3 separate regions of the Homo sapiens genome follow, and all the other regions are linked to region 2. Evidence: promoter capture Hi-C in 16 types of primary human blood cells and fetal thymus (Javierre and others, 2016). All regions are on one chromosome and are shown on one strand. Each heading gives the region's core, a stretch centred on a gene start or on the middle of the fragment in contact. The rest is flanking DNA. Distances are from core to core; before and after follow the strand shown. Region 1 has its middle 36 kb from the start of DUSP10. Region 2 holds the start of TAF1A (TATA-box binding protein associated factor, RNA polymerase I subunit A). Region 3 overlaps LOC124904522 (a long non-coding RNA gene).

What was found. Contacts are between HindIII fragments. The CHiCAGO score rates a contact against its expected background, and 5 or more counts as called.
Region 1: a contact is called between a fragment that was not itself captured here and the fragment with the promoter of TAF1A in region 2, in 1 of 17 cell types (total B cells). The highest score is 5.8, in total B cells.
Region 3: a fragment that was not itself captured here is called in contact with the fragment with the promoter of TAF1A in region 2 in 1 of 17 cell types (neutrophils); the score reaches 5.2 in neutrophils.

The regions. Positions count from the first base shown.
Region 1 is chr1:221,775,679-221,780,113 of GRCh38, reverse strand. No RefSeq gene overlaps it. Among named protein-coding and RNA genes, the nearest start is that of DUSP10, 36 kb to the right of the region's middle. RefSeq lists enhancers at 1,155-1,204, 2,255-2,304, 2,335-2,384, 2,455-2,544. The HindIII fragment of the contact is 720 bases long and covers 1,616-2,335 here.
Region 2 is chr1:222,588,610-222,592,819 of GRCh38, reverse strand. TAF1A (TATA-box binding protein associated factor, RNA polymerase I subunit A) reads left to right here and starts at 2,887. Exons shown (of 11, transcript NM_005681.4): 1 at 2,887-3,093. It overlaps TAF1A-AS1 (TAF1A antisense RNA 1), which reads right to left and starts at 2,900. Exons shown (of 3, transcript NR_110613.1): 1 at 2,858-2,900; 2 at 2,413-2,562; 3 at 187-654. RefSeq lists enhancers at 1,854-2,386, 2,387-2,920. The HindIII fragment of the contact is 1,624 bases long and covers 1,616-3,239 here.
Region 3 is chr1:223,146,717-223,150,869 of GRCh38, reverse strand. LOC124904522 (a long non-coding RNA gene) reads right to left here. Exons shown (of 2, transcript XR_007066895.1): 2 at 1,713-2,982. Among named protein-coding and RNA genes, the nearest start is that of TLR5, 5.5 kb to the right of the region's middle. The HindIII fragment of the contact is 4,461 bases long and covers 656-4,153 here.

The sequences.
Region 1 (4,435 bases), core at 726-3,225, 810 kb after region 2:
GGACCAAAGCCTAAACCATGGGCCAACTTACTCAAACTGGATCATGGATTATGAATCCATGCACAGGAGACTCATGACCTTAAGGAAACCTGCAAGGGAGGTGACATGACTCAGGCTGCAATACTAGCTTGACTCCTGTCACTTCACTGCAGAGGAATTTGTGAGCCAGGCAGGATCCTAATGTGCATCTCTGGGCCTGCTTTCTCCAGGCTGACTGATAGAAGCTGTGGCTTGATGCTGAGTTCACCATCAGGGCTGAGGCTGCTCAGGAGCTTCCTTTTCCAAGCCCAGATAGGTCTTAGAGGTAGGTAGAGTGGCCGTCCATGCAGGGAGAGCCCAGAGGCTGGAGAGCTAGCTAGGCTCTGGTTGCGTCTGTTTTGTGGCTAGGTGGTTGGTTTCGCCTTGTGTCCTTAGGAGGTCCAGGGCTGCCCACGGCCACCATTGGTTTTCAACTGTGTGAACAGACACAATGCCCCAGACCAGGGAAGAGAACACTGCGAGTGTGCAAGCAAACTCATAACCAGCACCCCAATGTGCCTTTGTTTGCCCTCTCCCCCTTGGCACATAGAACCAATCTAAAAAATTGCTCCCTTACACTTCTATCAAAATCTCAAATTTTCAAAGTCCTATCAAGAATATTATCCCATAAGCCAAGGCTAGAGATGAGTTTTCGTAATAACTTCACCAGACAAAAGAGAAAACTGAAGCTACAAGAGGCAAGACCTACCCAGAACCATTTGGCTGAGCCCAGCACTCTGCCCATGGTCCATGCACCCCTTGACCCTGACATCAGCAAAGCAGTCCCCATCACCAAAGTGCTATGTGCCATGTGCCCCTGGGAAGAAGAACCAATCTGAGATTGCAAACAATGGGAAAGGACCTCAACTCTTGTGAGGCAGCTCTAAGAACTTTCAGCCCTAGACCTGTACATTTTTTGTGATTTTTTAAAAATGTAACTCACCATGCTATACACATCCTTAGCACACATCCCGTACACAAGCTCACTCTGCTCCTGGCATTGAGCACCCAGGGTCTCTTTAGGGGACTCCCTTTTTCTCCCCTGAACGGGCCACTCTTTACCATCAAAATGAATTGCCTATCATCTGTACTCGGCTTTTTAGCAGTCACAAATACAGGGTGGGGAATTTATTGGATACCAGGTGTCCTATTAGCCAAAGTCCTTTCCAGCTCATGCTGCTGAATGAGCCAGGTCATGACCCCAACCAGGCACTCTGGTTAGAGCTCAGTGTAGACAGATGTGCACACACTGCTGGGCACAGAAGGTTTGGGAGTGTAGACAGAGGAAGTGAGTCCTGTCAACTGGGGCGGCTCCTGCACTGAGCAGTGAGGGCTGTGAGTGAGAACTCTCTGATGCTTCCTCTCTATGTAAGGCCCGTGAGCTTTATGACTTCCTTCTGGCTTGGTTGTAAGCGAAAATCACCTCAAAAGGGGCGTGGGTAAGAGCTACTAGCCTTCTTGGAATGCCTACTATGTGCCAGACATGAAAGCAGATGCTTTTTTCAAATACTTCTGTCGGATGAACTTTCTTATTATTGTGGTACAGATGAGGAGGCAAAATCATTTGTCTAAGACCCCACTGTTTCAGCTGCAAGCTTTCGTGGCTCCTCAGTTTGCATTTTTTCCTCACTGCAGTATCACTTTGTGAAGGAGGTCTGAAGTCTTCAAATGAAAATAGAGTTTTCTCCTTATGTAAGTATAGCAATCAAATGTTCTGGAAAGAACACTGTGCCCAGCCAAATTGCTCTAGATGTTCAGGGCAGGAGAGGGGCGGATATCCTGGTGGTGATGACCACATAACAAGAAGAGACAATGTGTGCTTAAGGTACCAGCATCTCAGGGTGGTCTAGTATTTCTCAGAGAATGGTCTGAGAGTTGGCCTCTCGTGGTATAGGTAAATTTTTAAGTATTTATGAAAATGCTTATATGTCTGGTTTCAGCCTGATTTAGTAATTTGCTTGTATAATCTCTATGTCTATTCTTGGTGGTCCAAAGGGCCCAGATTAAGAATTTTATAAACATCCTGCTGTGTTTAGTGTGTTATACCTCGGAGTATCTATTTCGCTAACCCAGATGGTGCCGTTACCACACACATATCCTGCAAGGGGAGGGAATTGTATTAACAAGTATAACCAGCAAAACCACAGCATTTCACTTTAGCAAAAGGGGCCGAAACAGGAAGCAGGTAAATTCCCTGCTCCCACACATCTACCATTCTCTCCTCCCTTCTATGAACTTAGAGTCTCTGGTTTTGTGGCCACTGAACTTGTCTCCACCTCTAGGGGCCAAATTGGGCACTGGGGGGAATTCACAAGCTTTATATTTAGCTCAAAATCACCTGGGCTATATGTGGGCTCATCACTTCCTTAAAGGTGGAAGAAGTTATAATTTCTTTTTTCTCTCTTCTCTTTCTCTCTCTCCATCTTTTCTCTTCTTTTCCTCTGTCATTTTCCCCTTCTCCTTCCAAGCATTATAGTCTTCCTTGGACCGCTTTTTCCGAATTGGCTTCCACTGGCCCATTCCAGAGTACAATTACTAGTACTGTACTACATTTCCAATAGTCAATAAGAAAGCAGAAGTGGCCACATTGGCTTCCCCTAAAAGCAGCATCAAATTTCAAGTACTTTCTTATATTACCGCCGCTCATTCCACCACCCTCTATAAGCACACAACTCACTGCTGAGCACATCATAAATGCTAAAAAGTAGTGAATAAATCAACGAATTAAATAATTCTTTTATTCTAATTTTTTTTGTACAGCAAGCCATTGTGAATAAGATGGTTCTTTTATCCCCAAAGAGGTTGCCTATTGACTGAAAGCCTAAGCACAGCTTCTGAGAGTCACAATGAGATCACATCTCTACTGTACTGAAAATCTTTTCAGGCACCAGAGAGAAAGGCCTGAGTGTGATTCTCCTTCCCTGGTTCTGAGTGAGAAGGTCATTAGCTCACTAGGTACTGGCAATTTCAAGAATTGCCAAAATGACAGTGATGTGATAAGAACAACTATCCTGTTGGGTCTTTGTGTAGTATTTTTCCTTTGAAAACAGCTTTATGCTAATTATCCCATATGAAACACAAAAAAAAAGGAAGTGTGAGGTCAATGTGGCTAAGATTTATGTCCGTTTTGCAGACGTGGATCTGAGATATCTCGTGATTTGCTGGTGGTTGCACAGGTAGTGGAAGAGCTGGGGTGGAAGGGTTTCTTCCTGAGCAGGTGGCTGTTCCTCCCAGAAGTCCTGCCTACCTGCCTTTCTCTTGCTGACAGCCATATCACCCACTTTGTTTAAGGGTCAAAACTGTCTCAGGTTGTTCTCACTGCTACACACCCACTAGCGCCATGACAAATTACAGATGCCATGGCAACATCAGGAAGTTACCCTGTATGATCTAAAATGGGGAGGAACCCTCAGTTCTGGGAATTGTCCACCTCTTTCCTGGAAGACTTGTGAATAATCCATTCCTTGTTTAGCCTATAATCAGGAAACAACCATAAAAACGGGCAACCAGAAGCCCTCAGGGCTACTCTGCCTATGGAGTAGCCATTGTTTATTCCTTTACTTTCTTAACAAACTTGCTTTCACTTAAGAAAAAAAAAAAAACTTTCTCCAGTAAAAATTTATGTTCACACCTAAAATTTGTAAACCAATGTGCATAGCATCTTTATTCATGATGGTTAAACACTGGAAACAATCCAGATGTCCATCAATAGACGAGTGGATAAGCAAAATGTATAATCCGTGCAATGGAATATTATCGGGCTGTCAAAAGGTATGAAGAGCTGACACATGCTGCAACATGGCAAAACCCTGAAAACATTATTTTAAGTGAAAGAAGCCAGTCACAAAAGCCCACATTATGTATTATTCCGTTTAGACGAAAAGCCAGATTAGGCAAATGTATATAGATGCAAAGTAGATTAGTGGTTGCCCAGCGTGGGGAGTTGATGAGGGTATTGGAAACTGATGGCTAATGGGTACGGATTTCTTTTAGGGGTGATAATAATGTTTTAAAATTTTTGATGGTGGCACAACTCTGTGAATATACAAAATCTCACTGGGTTGTATAATATAAAAGAGTGAATCATATATGTAAACTATATCTCAAGAAAGCTGTTATTTTTTTTTAAAGACTGACTCTCGGCTGTGGCTTTCATAATCTTCTTTGGCCATGGCTTTCCCCAGGGCTCCAAAGCTAGGCAGTGCCCAAAACTGTCTCCTCTAACTTTGTTTTACAGGGAGACATTCCTCCAACTCTGCCTGCTCAAATTTGTGGGGTGAAATCTGGTGCCTCTATATTTCCAAATACAAAGCGCTAGAGGTTAAGTTGTGTGCTTCTCAAATGTCAGTGTACATTCTGATCCCCTGGAGATCTTGCTAAAATGCAGATTCTTAACCTTTGGGTCTGGGACACAGAC
Region 2 (4,210 bases), core at 1,638-4,137:
ACTACACATAAAACAATCAATACAATATAGAAGATCTGAAGACAACTATTAACCACCTTAATCACGTTGACATTGATGGACACAATGCTCAATAACTACAGAATACATATTCTTGTCTAGTGCTCACAGAACATTCACCAAGATAGACTATATTCTGGGCACAGTAAGTCTCAAAAAAATTTTAAAGTATCAAAATTTCAGAGTTTGTTTTCTAACCATGGCAGAAATAAACTGGTAATTTCCAATAAGACTAGTCATAAAAAAGATAGAAGATGCAAATGATCAATGTTTGTGTTTCATTTATCTATTCCTATGTAAGAAATCACTGCAAACTTCAGTGGCTTAAAATAACAACCATTTTATTGCTCACAGTGTTGTGAGTCAGGAATTTGTGTAGGACTCACTGAGAACAGCTCATGTCTGCTCCATGTGTTGTCAACTGGTCTCACTCATGTAGTTAGATTCAGCAAGTGCCTGATTTAGGATACACAGTCTGAGATGAATTTCTTCACGTGTCCGAAACCAAGATGCTGACTGTTGGTTCCATGTGGCCTCTCTTTCCATGTGGTCTTTCATACTGCAAGAGCTCTTTCTTCACGTGGCCACTGTCTCCAGCAGGATAGACTGGTCTTCTTTTTGTAGCTGCTCAGAGTACTGAAACATGAAAAGAAAAAAAAAAGAAAAAGGAAGAAAAACCTGTGTCTTTGAGGATACAGTCCCTGGGGTGGAATTCTAGCCCATGTATTTTGGTTTTCTCTATATTATTATCTGAGATGTTTTTATTTTTATGCTTTCATGCCACATTCCTTTTTTATTCTCGTTAGCTGTGATATAGGATAGTCTATTTATGATGAGGTCTCTTCAACTGTTTGGCTATGTGAAGTTTGTTCTTTAATAGATTGCACAGGAAGCGTTCATGGAAATAATATTCCTTAAATGACAGTTTGCAACTTTAAAAACAACATAATTCATCACCATATTAAGTTGCTCTGTAGCACAAAGTAATTGTAAGAACATGTTTTTCTTAGGACATGTTTTCTTATAGATTGAAATCTAGAAAAGTCTTTGCATGCTTTATGTTTTCATATTTGTCATGCCTTTTTTTTTTTTTTTTTTGAGACATGGTCTTGCTATGTTGCCCAGGATGGAATTGAACTTTTGAGCTCAGCGATCTTCCTGCCTCAGCCTCTGGAGTAGCTGGGACTACAGATGCCTGCCACGGCAACCTTCCCTCCTTCCTTCTTGTTTATGCTATTGGATGTGATCTAGTTGATTTTTTTTATCTCTTCTCTCCAACACATTTTCTGTCAGAATTGCAGCATGGGAAAGAAAAAGCATAGGTAGGGCACGTTTCCTACTGCTCCTTAGAGCTGTTTGAGAACTTCGAGGAAAATCTGAAAGCTCTTCCTCATTTTCGGGAGAACATAAACTTTTTTCCATGTAAAATCATTTCTGGGCTGGTTTTGGTGAATTTACACCTCAAGCCAATGGGAGAAAAGTAGCCAGACTAAGCCTCTAGACAAGAAAGTAATGATTATGTATGTTATTTTGTGTGTGGTCTCCTGGACTACGCATAATTTATGTTAGCCCTGCCTGTAGAGTTAGAGCACAAGCTTGAGTGAGGACTCAAGAACTAATGACAGAGAGAGCAGCAGAAGGAACTTTTCTTGCAAGTCCTTAACTACTGCATATTGTTTTATGCAGAAGACAACATAGAATCAACTATTTGTAGCATTTTAAGGAATCCATGTACAAAATTTTTTTTGACAGGGTCTCATTCTGTCGCCCAGGCTGGAGTGCAGTAGGGTGATCACAGCTCACTGCAGCCTCGACCTCCCTGGGCTCAGGTGATCCTCCCACCTCATCCTCCCGAGTAGCTGGGACTAGAGGCATGCATCATCACCCCAGCTTATTTTTTTTTATTTTTATTTTGTAGGGACGGGGTTTCATCATGTTGACTAGGCTGGTTTCGAACTCCTGAGCTCAAACTTTCCGCCTGCCTCGGCCTCCCAAAGGGCTGGGATTACAGGCATGAGCCACCGCGCCCGGCCTCAAACTCTTACCAGACCCTTTAATTTCCTCTCCGATACTCCGATTCTACTCAAACTGTTCACCTACACAGAGGAAACTCAGTGATTCCTGGGGGAGCCTATGCTATATTTGTGCATCCTCATTTGTGGACAAAATTCTTTCTTGCTGTGACTTGAAAGCAGCCTCCCTTTACCTTTCACTTATTAGTCCTAGTTCTGTTCTCTGCTGCTAAGAAAAAGGGTCTGATCCTTCTTTCACTGATCAGCCCTCCAAATATTGGAGAAGCACACTGCGTTTCCATGGGCCTGCAGTCCTTTTCCGGGATCATCTTCCCTAGAACCCCTCAACTGTCTCTCATTTCACACGGTTTAACCATCTTACCTTTAACCCATATTTCATTTGTTTGTCTCAATGTCCCTCATGAAAGTTGACCCAGACGGGTCCGCAGAACAACTTTTGCTGAGAAGGCAAAGGAAATTCTCGCCCAAATTGTGGAGAAGGCAGTCGAACCAATTAAACCTAAAGCTAAAACTGTAATAGAAAAGAACTTTCAAGCTCGCAATGAAAAGGCTATGCATGGATTTATCTCATCACAGCCACTAGCCACACCTCCACTCGTGCAGTGCGCCTGCGAGCCGAGCAGAAACCAATGGCCCATCGTAGTGAATTTCTCGGGTAAAGTGACATTCTCCGCTTTTGAATGCTCCCTTCGCCCAGCCGCCAACCCCTCGCCCCAATTTCCATTTTAAATGAAAGTCTCCCACTTTCTAGCTGAGACAGACAAAAATAAAACTCGGGCAAAACCAATCGCAGAGAGGCAGCTCACTGTCACTTCCTGGGTCACTTCCAGAAGTCACTTCCGGGGTCGAGGCGAGGCCAACGATACGCCTGCTGCAGCAGGAGGAGTTACGAGCCGGGCCGCGCGCTGCCTAAATACCTAAACCAGGTTTAGCGCCTGCTCATATAAAGCTCTCCTAACTCGTCTTCCGGTGGGAATTTCTTCACGTGGGCCGGAGTCGGAGACTGAGTTTAGCTTTACTGAGGAGCTCTAAATTTAGGCGGGTAAGTGCCGCAGATATCGCCCGTGGTTCCTGCGTTTAAATGGAACGGGAAGGGGTGTGTCAGGATTCATCCATGTTCTCCTGATATTTCCTCCTAATACCTGAAACCCTTGGGGTCTGAAAACGAAAGAAGGGGATAGAGAAGCTTTGGTTGCCGTGGCAACTGCGGGTCACCAATTTGGGTTTTTGAGGATTTGGAAAGGGAGGATTTGTGTAACTACTCCTGAAAACACGTGATGGGTCGGATTCAAATTCAGTTGTTACTTATAATTCATACTCCTAGCCACATGCTTTGAATTTAGAAGGTTTACTCTGGGTATAATGCAGAGATGCAAAATCTGAGCCAGGGTAATTGTTTAGAAAGCTGATGCGGTAATCTAGGCACTGTTTGAAGGGGTCTTGAACTAGAGTAGTGCTGTAGGATTGAAGAGGGGAAATAGGGGAAATTTGGAGGTAGTATCAGGGGCACTAATACTCGATTTCATATGGGTAATGAGGAAGGGGCCCTGAGCATCTTTAGGAGTAAGTCTAAACTCACCTTGGCTTATGATGATTTTTCTAGGTTCGTTTCTCACCTTCCGCACCCCTCCTCCACACGCACCTCGAATTCTAGTCATGCCAAGTAGTTTGGTGTTCTATTTCCTAGACTATCGTCCTCACCATTTTTTGTGATGTTAGGCAGGTTCCATCATTTCACTAAGCCCCTCAGTTTTTTCAACCTTCACATGGAAGAAAGTAATAGTACCCACCTCAGGATTGCTGTGGGGATTAAATTAGATAATTTATACTTCTAGTGCATAGTAAGGGCCTAATAAATATTAGCTGCTACTTCTATTCTTACTGTACTTTTCATATTGTTTTGTTATTATACGTTTTGCTGTTTCTTCGTCTAGACTTGAGATTTTTTAAATTAGAGGGGCAGTATCTTATTTATCTTTACATGGACTTGAAACATTAGTGGTTCGGTCTTTAATGGATCATTCATTTTGGCTGTTGCTGACATAGTTAAATTCATTTTTTACTTTAAAAGAGCTGACAGGTATAATGCATTTTGCTAATCAAATTATATTTATTAGATAAAAAGATAGCCGTTTTTCTGTACAACTCAGAAGACTGTG
Region 3 (4,153 bases), core at 1,637-4,136, 560 kb before region 2:
AATCACTCACTTTCTGATTATTGGAGTTGCCAGGCAGCACAATGAAGCTTTGCTAGTAGAAAAGTGCCTGTACCCTCTGCCATCACATGCCTCCCTTGGGACCAGAGCCCCTGGCCCGCTAGAAAATCTGAAGAATGCACAACCCTGTAATGCCATCCTGGCAGTGCTGCAGCTATGCCTGTAACTGCGATTTCAGATACGTGGTTCACAGAGGGGTGGACCTGCATCACTTCAACTGCTGGGCACTCATGAACAAAGTAGAAGGCACTCTACCTTGACGGGGGCTATGGAGGAGGAGGGGTAGGGAGAGTGGAAACAAGAATGTCCAGGAAGGACAAACAGTGGCTCACACCTAGCCTGTAATCCCAGTATTTGGGGAAGCTGAGGCGGGGAGATTGCTTGCATTCAGGAGTTGAAGACCAGCCTGGGCAACATAGGGAGACCTCGTCTCTACTAAAAATCAAAAAAATTAGCTGGGAGTGGTAGTGCTTGCCTGCAGTCCCAGCTACTTGGGAAGCTGAGTGAGGAGGGAGGATGGCTTGAGACCCTATCTAAAAAAAAAAAAAAATATATATATATATATATATATATATATATATATATATATCTCCACCAGGAAGAAGCAGCCAGCTCAGTTTCTGGGAAATGAAAAGCTTTGCTTTGGCAAAAAGAGAAAGGAAATTTTTTAAAAAGGAGAGAAAAAAGGGTGGAGAAAGGGAAAGCAGAAGGAAGAGAAGAAGGAAGCAATTGACATCCAACAGGGGATATTTCCACAACAACAGAAGGTTGAAATCTAGCCCTGAACAAAATGGACATCAATTCACCTAAGTGGAGTGTGAGCAAAGCCAAGTAGCTATTTCTTTCCTGACCTAGGGTATTGGCCAAAGGATTCTTCTGAGATTCAGTTATAAAACAGGAATTACACTGCTTTTGTCATATCCCTGAGTCCTCCAACTGTTTCATGCTGTCAAGTAATTGACAGTCCTGAGGAGCTCCAAAATAACCATGCCAAGAGGCTATTAGAAACATTCACTCCTCAGATCTGAGGCCAGCGGTAGACAAGGCCATCCTAGCTGTCCTCTCTATGGGTTCCTTTTCCGTGGAATGCAGCCAACTGGCCCTGGAGAGGGGACAACCAGAGTCACCCATAGTTTCTTCCAGGGCTTTCAAATTACATGACACATCAGTGGCACCACAGAACCCCAGAAGCCTGAAGCTGCCACAGAGAATGTCCACTCCCTACATCCCCAAAGCATGGTTCCCATGGGCATGATGAAGAACCAGGAGTCTTCGCCCTTCTTTGGGTCACTCTTTTGTTCCACACTTATTAAGCATTCATCATGTGTCATACCCAGAGCCAGGGATGTAAAGAAAACTCTGGAAAGAGCTCTGCTTTCTTGGAGCTCACAGCCTGGCAGGGGCAGTGAACAGGATCGAATTTAGATTCAAGGTGAAAAGTATAGCCAATGACATGAATGAGGTGCTACGGCAGCACAGGGTGGAAGTCGAGATTGATTTGAGCCAAATGTGCCAGGTAACAAAGTCAAGGAGGCTTTATTAAATCCAGGCAGGAGGTCAACTGGGTAGGGAAAGTATGTCATAATCCTATTTTAAAGACTTCACATGATCTCTATCACCTACTCTGCCCTTAGGTCATTGATGACCTGCTATATTTATTTTCTTCTATTGCATAACAAAATACAAGAAATTTATTGACATAAAACATTAGCCTTTTATTATCTCACAGTTACAAGGAGTCAGGAATCCAGGCATAGTGTGGCTGGGGTCTCTGCTCAGAGTCTTACAGACTGAAATCCGGGTGTTTGCTGGGCTGAATTCCTTCTGGAGCTTGGGGTTGTGGGCAGAAACCAGTTCCTTGTAGCTGTAGAAATGACATCCTATTTTGTCTTTGCTGGTTGGTGAGAGTCACTCTTAGCCTTTGAAGGGGGCCATGCGGCTAGGACCTGAGGTAAGTAGTTCATAACAAGGCCATTTGCTTCTTTGGGGCCAGCTGTGAATTACTAGACAGTCTGCTCAGATGGAGTCTCATATAACAGCACCTAATCAAGGGAGCAGTGATCCCATTATAGTCACAGATCCCACCCACAAAAATGGAGAGGGGTGCCAAAGATGGGAATCTCGAGGGCCATCTCAGAATCAGGTCTGCAAACCTGCAACTTGTCGCATCCAGTCGGGAAACTTCACTTCTTTTGGTATTTGACTCTAGAACAGTTGGCACCATTGGCCACTCCCACCTTGAAATTCATTCAATGACTCCTATTTATTTATTATTTTTATTTTTTATTTTTGGCTCTCACTATGTTGCCCAGGATGGAGTGAAGTGGCTATTTCTAGGTGTGATCATTGCACACTACAATCTTGAGCTCCTGGGCTCAAGCATGGGACACTGAGCCCAGCCCAGCTTATCCATTCTACTTTTGATGACCATTTGAGGGATCTCTAGTTTGGTGATTTGTATTAGTTATCTTGCTGTGTGACAAATCATGCCAAAACACAGTGGATTAAAACACCATGTATTATGTGACAGTTTCTGTAGATTGAGACTCCAGGCATGGACTCTTGGCTAGGTCCTCTGGCTCTGGTCTCTCACAAGACTGTAATCAAGGTGTTAGCTGGGGCTATGGTCTCATCTTAAGGCTTGAGCTGGGGATGATTCGATGCTGAATTCGCTTAAGTGGTTGTTGGCAAGAACCATTTTATCACAGGCTGTTAGACTGATGGCTTCAGTTCCTCACCAGCTGTTGGCAAGAGGCTTCCCTTGAGTCCTTGCCATATGGGTCCTTCCATAGGGCAGCTGACAATATGACAGCCAGCTTCATGAGAGCAAGCACGCAAGAGGGCCAGAGAGAGAGTGTGAGCAAGGCAGAAGTCACATCCTTTTGTAATCTAATCTCAGAAGTGATATCCCATCAATTTTGTCATGCTCTATTTGTTAGAAGAAGTTGCTGGGTCCAGTTCACACTTAAGGAGAGAAGATTACAGAAAGGCATGAATATCAGGAGGCAGAAATCTTAGGGAGCCATCATAGAAGCTGTCTAGTACAAAGGATATAACAAACAATGCTGCCTTACAGATTTTCGTATATATATTGTGGCATATGAGCATATCAGGTTATGCACCTAGGCATGGAGTTCCTAGGTCTTAGGGCATGTGAATCTTCAAGTTTCCATGACAGTGCCAAACTTCTACCAAGTGGTTATACCAATTCACATTTCCACTAGCAACAAGTGAGAATTCTGTTTGCACCATATCGTCACCAACACTTTTTATTGTCAGACATTTTATTTTTGGCCAATATGATTTATATAATATGTGATGTATTATAGCTTTAATTTGCATTTCTAAGATTTCTAATGAGGTTTGGTACTTTTTCATTTATTTATTGGTCATCTTATATTTCCTCTTTTATGAAGTATCTGCCTGTATCTTTTGTCCATTTTTCTACTGACTTTTCTTACTGATTTGTATGAGTTCTGAAGATAATCTGGATGCTTGGGCTGTGGCAGTTATATGTGTTGCAAGCATCTCTCTGGTTTTGTTTCCTATCTTTTTATTCTTTTAAATATGTCTTTTGATGAACACAAGGTCTTCATTTTAAGGCAGTTGAATTTATCAATCTTTTCCTTTATGAACTCTTGGACTAAGCCTGTCTTCTAGCTATTGTTTTCCGCCTATGTCTCCAACTGTCCCCCCATCTTTGATCCCCCCATTGTCTCCATATAAACATCTTTTCTATGCTCTGGACACATGACTTCAACTGCTCACTCGATGGCTCCACCTCCATATCCCACAGTCAGTCCAACACCAGTTTATCCCAAAATGAACTCATCCCTCCAAGTTCACCTTCCGCCACCCTACCACCCCTAGCTTGTATTTCCTAACTCCATGACTGACACAACTATCCACCAATCACAAAGCCAGTGTCTTGTGAATTTGCCCTGACTGCTCTTTCTCTTATAAGGATCCAGTTTTTCTGATTCTACAATCTAAACCTTGCCCCACTCTGTCTTCTCCTCTACATCTCCAGTGCCAGAATGTAAGTTCCATGAGACCAGGGACCTTGTCCAGCTTGTTCATTACCACAATATCAGTAAGGGATGGTGCTTAACAGCATGAATTTTGCAGCCCAATT